Regions from separate parts of the Homo sapiens genome. Here regions 1, 2 and 3 are each linked to region 4. The links are contacts of gene promoters, found by promoter capture Hi-C in blood cells and fetal thymus (Javierre and others, 2016). All regions are on one chromosome and are shown on one strand. Each heading gives the region's core, a stretch centred on a gene start or on the middle of the fragment in contact. The rest is flanking DNA. Distances are from core to core; before and after follow the strand shown.

The links. Contacts are between HindIII fragments. The CHiCAGO score rates a contact against its expected background, and 5 or more counts as called.
Region 1: a fragment that was not itself captured here is called in contact with the fragment with the promoter of PSIP1 in region 4 in 1 of 17 cell types (naive B cells); the score reaches 7.2 in naive B cells.
Region 2: a contact is called between a fragment that was not itself captured here and the fragment with the promoter of PSIP1 in region 4, in 1 of 17 cell types (total B cells). The highest score is 5.9, in total B cells.
Region 3: a fragment that was not itself captured here is called in contact with the fragment with the promoter of PSIP1 in region 4 in 6 of 17 cell types (activated CD4 T cells, naive CD4 T cells, non-activated CD4 T cells and 3 more); the score reaches 13.8 in activated CD4 T cells.

What each region holds. Positions count from the first base shown.
Region 1 is chr9:14,698,860-14,701,957 of GRCh38, reverse strand. No RefSeq gene overlaps it. Among named protein-coding and RNA genes, the nearest start is that of ZDHHC21, 7.0 kb to the right of the region's middle. The HindIII fragment of the contact is 291 bases long and covers 1,565-1,855 here.
Region 2 is chr9:14,673,884-14,676,859 of GRCh38, reverse strand. It overlaps ZDHHC21 (zDHHC palmitoyltransferase 21), which reads left to right. Exons shown (of 10, transcript NM_178566.6): 4 at 2,475-2,673. The coding sequence starts at 2,520. Among named protein-coding and RNA genes, the nearest start is that of ZDHHC21, 18 kb to the left of the region's middle. The HindIII fragment of the contact is 1,359 bases long and covers 896-2,254 here.
Region 3 is chr9:14,991,071-14,994,115 of GRCh38, reverse strand. It overlaps LOC105375980 (a long non-coding RNA gene), which reads left to right and starts at 921. Exons shown (of 5, transcript XR_929491.3): 1 at 921-967; 2 at 1,362-1,587. It also overlaps the pseudogene LOC389705. The HindIII fragment of the contact is 1,293 bases long and covers 624-1,916 here.
Region 4 is chr9:15,509,681-15,512,590 of GRCh38, reverse strand. PSIP1 (PC4 and SRSF1 interacting protein 1) reads left to right here and starts at 1,621. Exons shown (of 16, transcript NM_033222.5): 1 at 1,621-1,774; 2 at 2,262-2,474. The coding sequence starts at 2,403. RefSeq lists enhancers at 602-1,554, 1,555-2,508 and silencers at 1,636-1,715, 1,736-1,945, 1,956-2,015, 2,146-2,195, 2,296-2,495. The HindIII fragment of the contact is 3,241 bases long and covers 380-2,910 here.

The DNA of each region.
Region 1 (3,098 bases), core at 461-2,960, 810 kb after region 4:
TCAATCTTTTACCATTGATTCCACTGAATTCTTTGATAGTGTTTGCTTGCCTCAGGCCATTCATCACCACACTTTGAGCCCGTATTGCCTATGGGATTTTCTCACGCATCTCTATTTGCTGTTGCATCCATGTGAACCATGTTTTTTATCACCTAAGGCTGAGGCTTCCCACGATGTGTCAAAAGGTGAAATTCCAGGTGGCCTAAATTTTCCCATTTATTAGGTGTAGGTACAATGAACTCAAAGCAGGTATGTTGAATTATTATAGTATATTTGTAAACCAACAAAAGTTAATTCTATAAAGTGTTTTGGAGCCATAAGATATAACAGAAAGTATTTCTTTTGTTACTTTTGGTACCAGGATTTTCCTTGAAGGACTTGGAGATTCATTTCTGTATTCAACATTCTCTTCACCTGAGCAAAGTGAAGAAGTACTGTCTCCTTCTGCCTTTTCATCTCCTTTCCCAGAGCTCAGCACTCTCCTCTTTCCTTTGACTTTCTGAGAGCTCAGCACTTCCCATTCTGTGTCCACATGTAGCTGAGGGTAGCCATTAGATTGAAGCTCTCAGCTTTCCTCTTCACTCTTTCAAAATCTCCCACTTGGGTACTCTCTGGCTCTTCTTTTGCTTCTGACTTTGAAGATTAAGTAGCTATTCTCCTAGCAAAGAGAATCCTCTTATCTGGACTCTTGATTCTACTGGTGCTCTTGCCCCATACTTTAACTCTTAATTCTAACTTGTCTTTCTTCTCTTTTTATGATCTTATCTTAGAGATAACTCATGCTTCCTCATCCTAAAACACAAACAGGAGACAATCCATTAACTCATTTCAAAACCAGCTATGCCTACTGTCTCTATTTCTAAATAATCTCTCTTCTCAGTTTAATTACCTAGTTATTAAAAATCTACTCTTGAGTTTTCCAGGAAAATCCTGCTCACTAAATCTAATGGTCTTTTCTCATGCCTTATGTTCAACCTTTCTTCAGACTTTCAGATCCCTGCCTGTCCTCCACCAATTTCCTCCCCTCCCTGGACTTTTGCAAACCCTTTGGTATCAAAGACCAGATATAGATCCCTCCTCCAAGGGCCTGCCAATCACTCTCATTCTTCCTTTGTACTTTTTAGTTTCATTGTATATTAATTCAACCAAACTACTGGACACCTATAATGGATATAGAGTTGTGGGAAGCAACGGAAAGACAAACACAAATAAGACTGGATATGTTCTTTCCTGGAGCTCACTGTCTTCTGGGGAATATTTATAAGCAAACAGATCATTACAGCATGGTAAGATCTGTGATAGATGAGTCAAGAGAATCCTGTGGAAGCCCAATAGAAGGTGCCTAAGTTAGTCTGGTTGTTCAGCAGTAAGAGACTACCAGAGATCTGAAAGAGGAGTGCAGAGTTAGCAGCTGAGAAGGCAGGGAAAATGATGGGCCAGCAAGCAGTTTAGTGCTACTGTAACATACACTGGAAGGAAAAGCAGAGGAAGGAGTTGAGAGATGGCAGCAGAGATGAGACTGAAGAGGTCAGATTGTTAAGGAACTTTTATGCCACGCTAAGCTTTCATTTTACAATAAAGACATGGGTAGAGTGATGAGAGTGGTTAGGTTTGCTTTTATGAAAGAGTTCATGAGTGATATTGTGCAAAACAGATGGGTTGGGGGCAAGATTAGGGATAGGATGACTACTGCTGTAGTACAGGTGAAAAATAATGACAACCTGAACTCAGTGCTGTAGGAATGCAAAGAAATGAATGGCTTCGAAGGATCTTGTGGAAGTGAAATTGATCGAGTTTGGTGACTGGGTGTGAATGGATTGAGAGGGAGGAGACAGAACTTCTTAGTTTTCAAGCTTAGACAACAGATGTTTCTGAAATTGCAATACTAGGGGGAGAAATAGAGCTGGGGTGGTAATGAAAGATTTGTTTTTGAACACGTTGAGTCTGAAGGTTTGTGGAAACATTCTTCTGGGACCTGCCATAACTGGGATTTTCTCTTTGCTTTGGAATAGGGCTCTTTTGATTTTTAAAATGCCAATGAGGTAAAAATTTGTGGGACAGCAAGAGATAAAAGCCAGTGAAAGGCCTTTGTATACTCTTATTTCTTATCCAAAGCAATGTGCAAATCATATTTAGATGTTACCCACCACTGGCTTCAGCCTTCCACCTGAAGGTAATTGTCATAATAGTTACTGAGTCATTTCTCATGCCAGATTCAGGTTTAAGTGCTTGACATATATTGATTCCTTTGATCTTCATACAATCTAATATGATGACTATTATTATCCATTTTTTACAGATGAGGAAACGAAGGCATCAGTAATTAAGTAACACATACTTAGTAGTGTTAGAATCAGGGAACAAAACCAGGCAATCTCCCTCCACTATATCCTCCTCCATTCTGAGGCGAAGAGTTTCCAATCATTCACAAAGCAGGAATTCACAAACTCTGATTCATGGGGACCAAATATGGGCTGCTGCTCGTTTTTGTAAATAAAATGTTATTGTTGCATGGCCATGTCCATTCATTTACATATTGTCTATGGCGACTTGGCAATCCAATGACAGAACTGAATAATTGCAACAAAGACTAGACCACAAAGCTAAAGCTGTATCTGGCCGGGCATGGTGGCTCATGCCTATAATCCCAGCATGTTGGGAGGCCGAGGCAGGTGGATCACCTGAGGTCAGGAGTTCAAGACCAGCCTGGCCAACATGGTGAAACCCTGTCTCTACAGAAAATACAAAAATTAGCCAGGCATGGTGGTGCACGCCTGCAGTCCCAGCTACTCGGGAAGCTGAGGCAGGAGAATCACTTGAACCTGGTAGATGGAGGTTGCAGTGAGCTGAGATCATGCCACTGCACTCCAGCCTGGGCAACAGAGACTCCATCTCAAAAACAAACAAACAAACAAACAAAACTATATCTGATCCTTTAAAGAATGCATGCAAAGTGCGCTAGACCCCCAATTTGTCATTTCTCCCTTCATGTATGGGAGTGAACAAGGATAGATGTATGACCTTTGTTCTTATAGCCAAATCTCTGCAGAGATGTCCCTGATAACTTCCCAGTCAAGGCAGAAACTTCTGATTTTTTT
Region 2 (2,976 bases), core at 326-2,825, 840 kb after region 4:
CTTGTCATTTCTTTTAGCACTTGATAATTGGCAAGACTAAAAAATTAACATTGTCTTGAATGTTTCTCTTTTTAACTGTGTAGATAGCTTACCATTTGTATTTGAGATTCCTTTATTAAAATGATTCTTAGCAAATTAAATAGCATGCTTTATCCTGTCTGACTTTCTTCATTTTAATGATACCAATCTGTCTTTTGATTTTTAAATTAAAAGATAAATAAATGAAACTTTTATTAGTTTAGTGGCCTGGGCACTATTTCTGTTTTAGAATTCATACACAAGTTAGAACATACCGGATTTAAACTATTAAGTGGTATTACATTTGAGTTCTTTTTTTGTTTTGTTTTTTGTTTTTTTTCTGCTGCCCCAATATTTGCAGGAACTAGGGATGAGAAACTGGGGGTATTCCTTTAAAATCAAGTATTCCTTAATCTCTTTTTCTTTGTTTCAGTAGCTTTATAGCTTTGAAGAACATGGGCAAGGCCTCTAAGGGATGGTGCCCTGAGGCTTTTCAATTGATTATGAATTGTTCTTAGAATGAAGTAGACTGGGATATAGGCTGAAAATCTGGGAATCACCCTTGACACTTTCCCCTGTAACCCCTAATATCTAATCAACCAGAAAAACACACTGGTTCGATTCTAGCAGTTGCTCCTTTCTGCAAACCTAATTTTGGCTTTTGCCTTCTCTTAGCCTAATGGACCTCTGTCTTTAATTTTATCATTCACACCAGAGCTTCAGTAATTTATTCACGGTACACATTTCGTCATGTTAATCCCCTGCTTCAATAGCTTTCCATTGCCGAAGAATTCAGTCTTAGCATTCTAACATGGCATCTTTATGTCCTTCATGATATAGGCCCATATTTCTTAGCACTCACTCTCCACAGAAAGCTTTATGATTTGTGATGGCAGGTTGTAATACCTCCCACAATTTCTACTCTTGCTCCTCCTATTCCTTCTGTTTGCAGTATTCTTGTCACTTTTCATTGCTTAGATAACTTTTACTAACCTTCTAAGACTGAATTCAGGTTTCACTTCTTACAGTAAGTCTTACTTGATTCCTCGTTTAACTGGTCCCATCTTCTGTGCCCCTACTAACATTTTGTTTTCAAATCTGGAACTTACCATATTATATTAAATCTTTTTTCTGATTCTTTTTCCCATTAGACTGTTCCTTTAAGCAAAGACCATGTCTTCTTCATCATTGTATCTGCAGTGTCTAGCAAGTGATAGGTGTGTAGTGGAGGCTCAGTGAATATTTGTTGAACTAAGTGAGTTCAACTCATTGTGGTAACATTGAAGTGTTAGTGAAGCTCATGGGTCAGTGCTTCCTAGACACCAGTCAGCTGTTTTCAGACTCTTGCAGAGCATTTTACAACATTTTATTGTTTTTTGAGTTTTATGAAGAATTATGATTCAGTAGATGTAGAATGGGGTCTGGGAATATGTATTTTTAAAAAGCTCCCCAGGTGTTTTTGGTTTTCTTACAGGCTAGAGAACCGTTGTCCTAGTTTATTATTATACCATTGTATTTTACGTAAAAGGTACCCCCTAGACTTTATACAGCAATTTATTATTTCATCCTTGGAAGTTATATCTACCAAAGTATGGATGTATTTTTAGTCACTTTTTTGGTACCATATTTATATAGAAGTATTTTAAGTCCTTAAGTGTCTCATTGAGAGATCTGTTGGCATATTGTTAACACTCAACTAAAAAAAGCCTCATTTAAACAGGAGTCTTCTTCAGTTGATCATAATGAGATTTGTTGGGCTTCATTCTATGAATTTTAGTATTTTTGGCAATTTGTAATTAGTTTTCACTTTTTATTGTCATTTTTCAAAATACTTAAAAAATGTTTTATTGTAGTTTAAAATTAAACTAGAGTGCACAAATCTGAAGTATACAGCTCAGTGAATGTTTACATATGTAGATACACATAAAGTACCACCCAGGTCAAGATATGGAACGTTTCCCAACCCCTCGTTCTCTCATGTTCCTTTTCAGTTAATATACACCCCTGCAACCACAAGGTAACCACTGTTTTGACTTGTGTGACCCATCAGTCTTCTGATTAAAGCTACTAAAAATTTTTGTACATAATCTTTTGGTGGACACGTGTATTCATTTCTTTTGGGTTTACACAGGAAGTTGCTGGGTTAAGGACAAACTTGTGTTTTAAATTCAGTAGATGATTCCAGTTTATACCTGTGATAGCAGTTCATAGTGAAACATTGAAATTATTTGAAGCTTATGATAAAATTTGAATATCCTGAAACTTCTGTTTGTTTTCCCAAGTATTTATTGTAAAAATATATATACAAAGAAATATCAATAAATATATCAACTACAGAAAGAAAATGTCAAATATGCAAAGAAAACTCAATGTCATTTTATAAAAGTTGCCAGAAATACAGGTTTTAGTCAAATTTTTCTATGTAAGTAATTATTTTCTTTGTTCCTTCTCCTTAGGATCATCCTTCCTTGTGGGTTAGCAGGCAGTTATAAGATTGCAAAATGGGTCTCCGGATTCACTTTGTTGTTGACCCACATGGTTGGTGCTGCATGGGTTTGATTGTCTTTGTTTGGTTATACAATATTGTTTTAATTCCCAAAATTGTCCTCTTTCCTCACTATGAAGAAGGACATATTCCAGGCATATTAATAATAAGTAAGTTTCTTGATCTTTATTTTCTTGTATAATTATTTTTCTCATTGTAAACGTTTTTGGGGTGTAGTGCCACTATGATAACTTTCCTTTTAATATATTTAGTATTTTAGCAGTGCTGTCAATATTCAGTTATTTACTAATTTATGAACTTATGGAAATAATGGCCTTTATAGATTTGCAGTTAGATAAAAGTGATATCTCCATTTTTAACTGCAAAGTGCATGAAGACCATTTTGTTAAAAATAGAAAACTGACACAGTAGTGATAACTTGCATGTCTCTCTGTATTTTTATTATTGCTGTT
Region 3 (3,045 bases), core at 21-2,520, 520 kb after region 4:
AACTTCCGAAATCGTAGTAAAATATGAGATAATGCACATACTTTTCCCCCCTCCCCTCTCATAGTGCTTTTATGATCAGGTCCCTCTTACTTTCCCATTTCTCTGGCTCCAGCCAAGCCGAACGCTCCACTATGCCCAAACATCTCCTACACTTTTACGTCTCAGACTCTTCTCTGCCTTCAAAACCCATTTTCAAAGAGTTGTCTTAAAAGTCTTCTTTAACACCCCCTGGGACTTGTTAAATCCTCCTTCAGTGTTTCCATAGCACTTTCTACACACCAGCATTATAATCCCAAACAAAAAAGTCACAGTAGAATGCATATTCGCTTGTGCCCCTCCTCCCCAGGCCGGAGGCTCTACATGGAGAAGGGGCAGGCGGGTTGACCCCAAATCCGCAGGGCCCCGCACAATGTCTGGTATGTAATCGGTTCCCAATCTATCTGGGTGGGCGAATGAATGAAACGTTGGTTGGCTTAATCCGTTTCCCCAGGAAATGCGCCAAGAGGAGCTGGGCAGAAAATGCAGAGGCGCTACTTTCCTGGTCCAATCCCCTACAGAGCGCGAAACAGCGACCTGGGCAGGGTCCCCGCAGCAAACCGCAGACCCCGGACACACAGCAAGCTTAATAGTCACTGCATGAATGAAACGCGCTGCCTCCTGGTACCCTGGCTGTCATCCAAAGCCACCTGCGTAGCCCCCACAGCCTTTCTGGCAGTATCTGCGGCCCCGCCCCCGCGCCGGGCCTGCGCTTCCAGCCACCGCCCACCATTCTGCAGCTGCAGCGCCAGCCGAATTCCCGGATCCGCGGCCGCTTCCGAGAGCAGCCAACTGCTTCCGGGTTCAAAAGCCTCCAATGCGAATCCCAGCGCCGCTCGGGCGCGCCAATTTAGGGAAAAGGCTCCGCCCATGCCCCGCCCCCTGAGACCTGGCGCCGGGCGCTTTGAGGCCCGGCTTACTCCCTTGCTGGGTATGGGGAAGGGGCGTCTTCTGTCCTTGTGGTCCGCTTCTAGGCTTTTTGGAGCATCTTCCAGGGTCACTCCAGAGACCCCCCCAGACTACTGAATCTGAATCCGTTAGGGTGGTCCAACCTTCCTCTTCAGGTGTCTACTAGAGGCAAGGTTGGATGTATGCGGCTGCCCTCAGTACAGCCCCTTCCTTGTTTTTTCTTCATTTGTGTTTACTTAAAACATTAATCCTTTTCTCCCTCTCCTCCATCCCTCTCCCTCCCCTACTATACAGTTATTGACTTACACTAATTCATTCCCGATGATCTCCCAGAAGGAAATAAGTGTCTGTCTGTCTCTGTCTCTGTACCATCGTCTTCTTGGTACAGTTCGGACTATTTTTTCTCTACACCCCAGTTATGCAAAGTGTAGTCCCTGAACCAGCAGCCTCAGCATCCTGAGGGAATTTGTTAAAAACGCGAAATCTCAAGCCCTACCCAGACTTACTGAATCAGTGTCTGCATTGCAACAAGATCCCCTGGTAATTCCTATGCACATCAAAATTTGGAAGGCACAGCTCTCAACTGATGTCCTGGGTCTCCTTCACATCCATCCTGGGAAGGTCTTATTCCTCATTCCTGAGGTGAGTTCCCTATTTCCTGAGTCTGTGTCTTTTTCTTGATTATATAGCCTCATGTTGTGGAACATATCCGCCAATAGTTCCTTGAGGGAGGTTGCTTCCAGGTCTTTTTTCCCACAGAGCGTGCAGGTCTGGAACTGTTTTTATTCTGGCTGAGTTCTAGGTTGAAAATAACTTTCACTCGGAATATTGGAGGGCTTGCTCCACAATATTTTAGCTTCCAAAATTGTTGAGAAACTCTACGTCATTGCATTTCCTTCTCCTTCTCAGGTCACTAAATTTCTTGTTATGTAACCCGCTTTGGTTTCGGTTTTGTTTTGTCTCAAGAAGCTTTAGGATCTTCTCTTTATACCCAGCGTTCTAAGACACAATCGAGTGTCTTTCTTATGGGTCTTTTCTCATTCCTATTGATCAGTTTTTCAATCCTGAAACACATGTTCTTCCGTTATGGGGATTCTCCTGGTATTATTTATTTGATCGTTTCTTTCCGCCCTCTCTTATTTTATCTCTTATTTTTTGAAATTTGTTATTTAGATCGTGGACCTTCTTGGCTGATGTTTTTTCTTACCTGTCTGTCCTATTTTCTATCCCTTCATCTTTTTATTCTACTTTCTCTGTGACTTTTTCAACTTAATTGGACAAATGATTATCAGATTACTTTATTTCTTTTATTATACCTTCATTTCTAAGTGCCCTTTTTATTCTCTGTTCTTTTATAGCATTACATTATTGTTTCATGAATATACCTCCTTTACTCTCTGAAGATGTAAATTATAGGAGTTTTAAAATACTTTCTACATAACTCTGCATTGATTTTGATTCTTTGAGTTTTTTTTGGTTGTTTGTTTGTTTATATTTGGTCCCTGTCGTTTCTGCTAGAGGCGTTCTTCATCTTGTGTAGTGATCCCTGCTGTCAATTTATATGTAAAAGTGATGCTCTAAAAAGGTGCTTTGGGGACATAGGCAAGGCTTGTTCACTGCTGGACAAGGTGTAAGATGGTGGGGCAAGGTGTAAGATGGTGGGGCAAGGTGTAAGATGGTGGGACAAGGTGTAAGATGGTGGGGCAAGGACCAGCTGTTTATTTTCTTCTAGAGAGTAATCTTCTAATTACTTGCTTTGAGAATATATAGCCTTCTTGGAGCCCAATGCGGGAAAGAGTTTGGGAGACTTAGTAATTTCATTATATGCACTGATGCCCTGTGTTAGTTGGGGTTCTCCAGAGAAACAGAGAATGAATAGATATCTATATCTATACCTATATCTCTATCTATCTATTAGCTCATGTGATTATGGGGGTTGAGAAGCCCCACAATCTGCTGTCTGTAAGCTGAAGACCCAGAAAGCCCATGTTGTAGTTTAAAGCCCTGATAACTGGAGATGGTGTAGATTCCAGTCCGAGTTTGGAGTCCTGCAAACCAGGATCACCGAGGGCAGGAAAAGATCAAAAATTCAGTTCAAGA
Region 4 (2,910 bases), core at 372-2,871:
GGGTTTAGAACAAATAAAGTGCATACACACAAAAAAATGATTGCTGGATGCTGCTTTGGTCTCTCTTACTCTGTATCTTGAGCTTTTCTTCAATACATCTTTTTCCACCTTTTCCTATGCATAATTTATAGCCAACACCTGACAATCATTCCTTTGTGTAATTACTTAGTTGTGCTCTTCCTTCCCTTTTCTTAGTCACCATTCTCACTGAGAAATGCGTCATTTCATGAGTACTCCAGTTACCCCCAGCCTCTTTCTACTAACATCTACCTTGAAACATCAAGAACTGGTTAAATAATCATTTTTACCCCCTTCTTGCTGAGCAACCTATAGTAGCTTCCTACTACACACATTAAATTCATATTCAGAATGAGAAGCTTCAAGACATTTCACCAACCCTTCCTTCTCCTCTGCCAATTTCTCTTTTTGCTCCACTTGGAACTCTCTGCATATTGCCCAGGTATACTTAGTTTCTCGAAACTCCTTACAGGACATTTTACTTTGGGACTGTCTTCTTTCATTCCTTTTTAAAGACATGCTGTATCGCTTTCAAAAAATTCTCAATTTTTACCAATTCAAAAAAAATTTCCTAATTCATTTCCAGTTGAGTCCCGTATTTAAAACAGTATTATCTAGGTGCTAATATATGTCTTATTATTCTTATTTTTATATGTCTTAACATTCTTTTTAAAAATATTTTCAGCCTCTCTAAAGGATCAAAAAATTAACCTTTAAAATCCCTTGAAGAGCATTTTAAGAGAGAAAATATTTGAGGTTTAGTAACACTTACACATTGTACCACCTACCAGCTCCTATTCTACTAGGGAAATAAAATTTAGATGCAGCTAAAATTTAGTTAGGGCCCAAACTCACATCCTATCTAAAAGGTTTCTGTTTTCCTGTCATTGTTTTCTACCCTTCGCATTTTGCATTCAGTAGGGTTGCATTTTTCTTAATAGTTCTTGGTGATGCAAATGCAAAAGAAATGAAATAGGGCTCTCTCATACTACAATTTCAAGGAAAAGGAGACTACGAGGCCCATTCAGCGAGGTGCAAGAGGCCTAGATGCAGCACACCCTGCAACCGCCGCATGCTCCAATTTCATCTTAGGGTTTTCGTACAGCTCCTCTTTTTTGGATGATGCAAACCGCGCAAAAGCAGCATTCAAACCTCCCCACCCTGGAAACGATACAAGAACATGAATCTTTACTGCCACTTTCTCCCTAACACGCAGCCAAGGGAGAGAGGCCCGGATACCCGCCCCCAAAACCGCGTCCACAACAATCATTTCCTCCCTCCCCGCCTTTTACATACAGTACACATACAAATACACACACGCAGAGAAGCCAGCAGGGGCGGGCCGGGCCCGACCACTCCGCAAACCGCAGGGGGAACTTGCGGCAGGCCGAGCTATTTTCGCCCAGTCCTTTCTTCTTCGCTTGCGTCTTCCTCTCCATCTGCATGCACCTGTTACATGAAAGCGAACTTGGGGACGTAGGGTTTCCAGAAAATCCGCTTCGGAGCCACACAGCTTCGCCGGGTGCTGCAACATCCCCCCTCTCTCGGTAAACAGTTGGTCGCGCCCCAGTGCTAGCGGGCGCCGAGCGGGAGCCGCGCGGGAGCAGCGCAGCTACGGCGGCGGCAGCGGCGGCGCGGTTGCGATTCCGAGCCGTTGAGACGCCTCTGCGGCAGCTGGTGGCGCAGGTGGCTTGCGTGGACGCGGGTAGAGGCGACCGGCCAGCAACCGCAGCGTCGGCGCCCGCGGCCCCGGCAGGTGAGCGGGCGACGGGGACTCGCCCCGCCCCCCCCTCGGTGGCGTCGCTCCTGGCTGTAGCGGGGAAGTGGACGCGGCCCGCCCGGGAGCCGAGGGGGCCGAGGCTGCAGCCGCTGGGCAGCAGGTTGCGGGGGAGGCCTTGCGTGGGCGGAAGGGGGCCGCTCGCTTCTCGGAATCCCTGCCTTTTTCTCTCCCATGCACCCCCTCCCTTTTGGGGCTTAAGCTCGGTGGAAAAAGCCCGGAGAAAGATGGGGCGGGCAGACGGGCGATTTCTGGCCGGGCAGCATCCCTGCTTCAGGTGGTGGCGTCTCTTCGGTGGCGGGGTGGAGGACCTGCTCCAGCGCGGAGGCAGCGCACTGGCGGGGGAGGAGCGGGAGGCGGCCGTCCCCTCGCTCTCCCACCCCCACCCGCCGGTTCCCCTCCCCCTCCCCTTGCGGCCCCTCCCTTCGGGGTTCTTCGCTTTAACCGCCCTCGGTGCTCTCCCTAGCAGGCGCGTCGGGACGCCCCGAGGCATCCTCCCCCGCCCGCGGGCCCGGTAGCTGGGCCCGCGTCCGCCGCCCGCATCCCCGCGCCGCCGCATCTCCTCGCCGCCTCCCGGGCTTCGGACCCCCGGTCTCGCCCCCGAAACATGACTCGCGATTTCAAACCTGGAGACCTCATCTTCGCCAAGATGAAAGGTTATCCCCATTGGCCAGCTCGAGTAAGTGATTTGTAGCCCTCGCGCTTAGCAGTGCTACCCTCCTCTCCAGAGGCCTGCTGCCCACCGTGTCTCTTTATTTTTTCTTCTGTCCTTTCTCTCCCTCGCTTTAGTCTCATTTGTAACCTGACCTTTCATTTTAGTTTTTTGCCCAATAATCTCCCGTGTAATTATGAAAATCCAGACGTTTCTACATACCTGTGTATTTCCCTATGGTTTATTGGCAGACTTGGACAGATTTTCTTCCTAGGAAATATTTAAATGCGTTGCTAGTTAATATTCCATTGTAGGTGAAATAATGAAGAGTGAATTTTTGTTTAAAAATTAGTGAAACATTGACATTTCCATAGTTTTGGATCAAGTACAAAATATCAATGGAATTTGTGCAGATTACACACAAACACTTGGATGTCAGAGAAGTGCGTATGTGATTAAATTG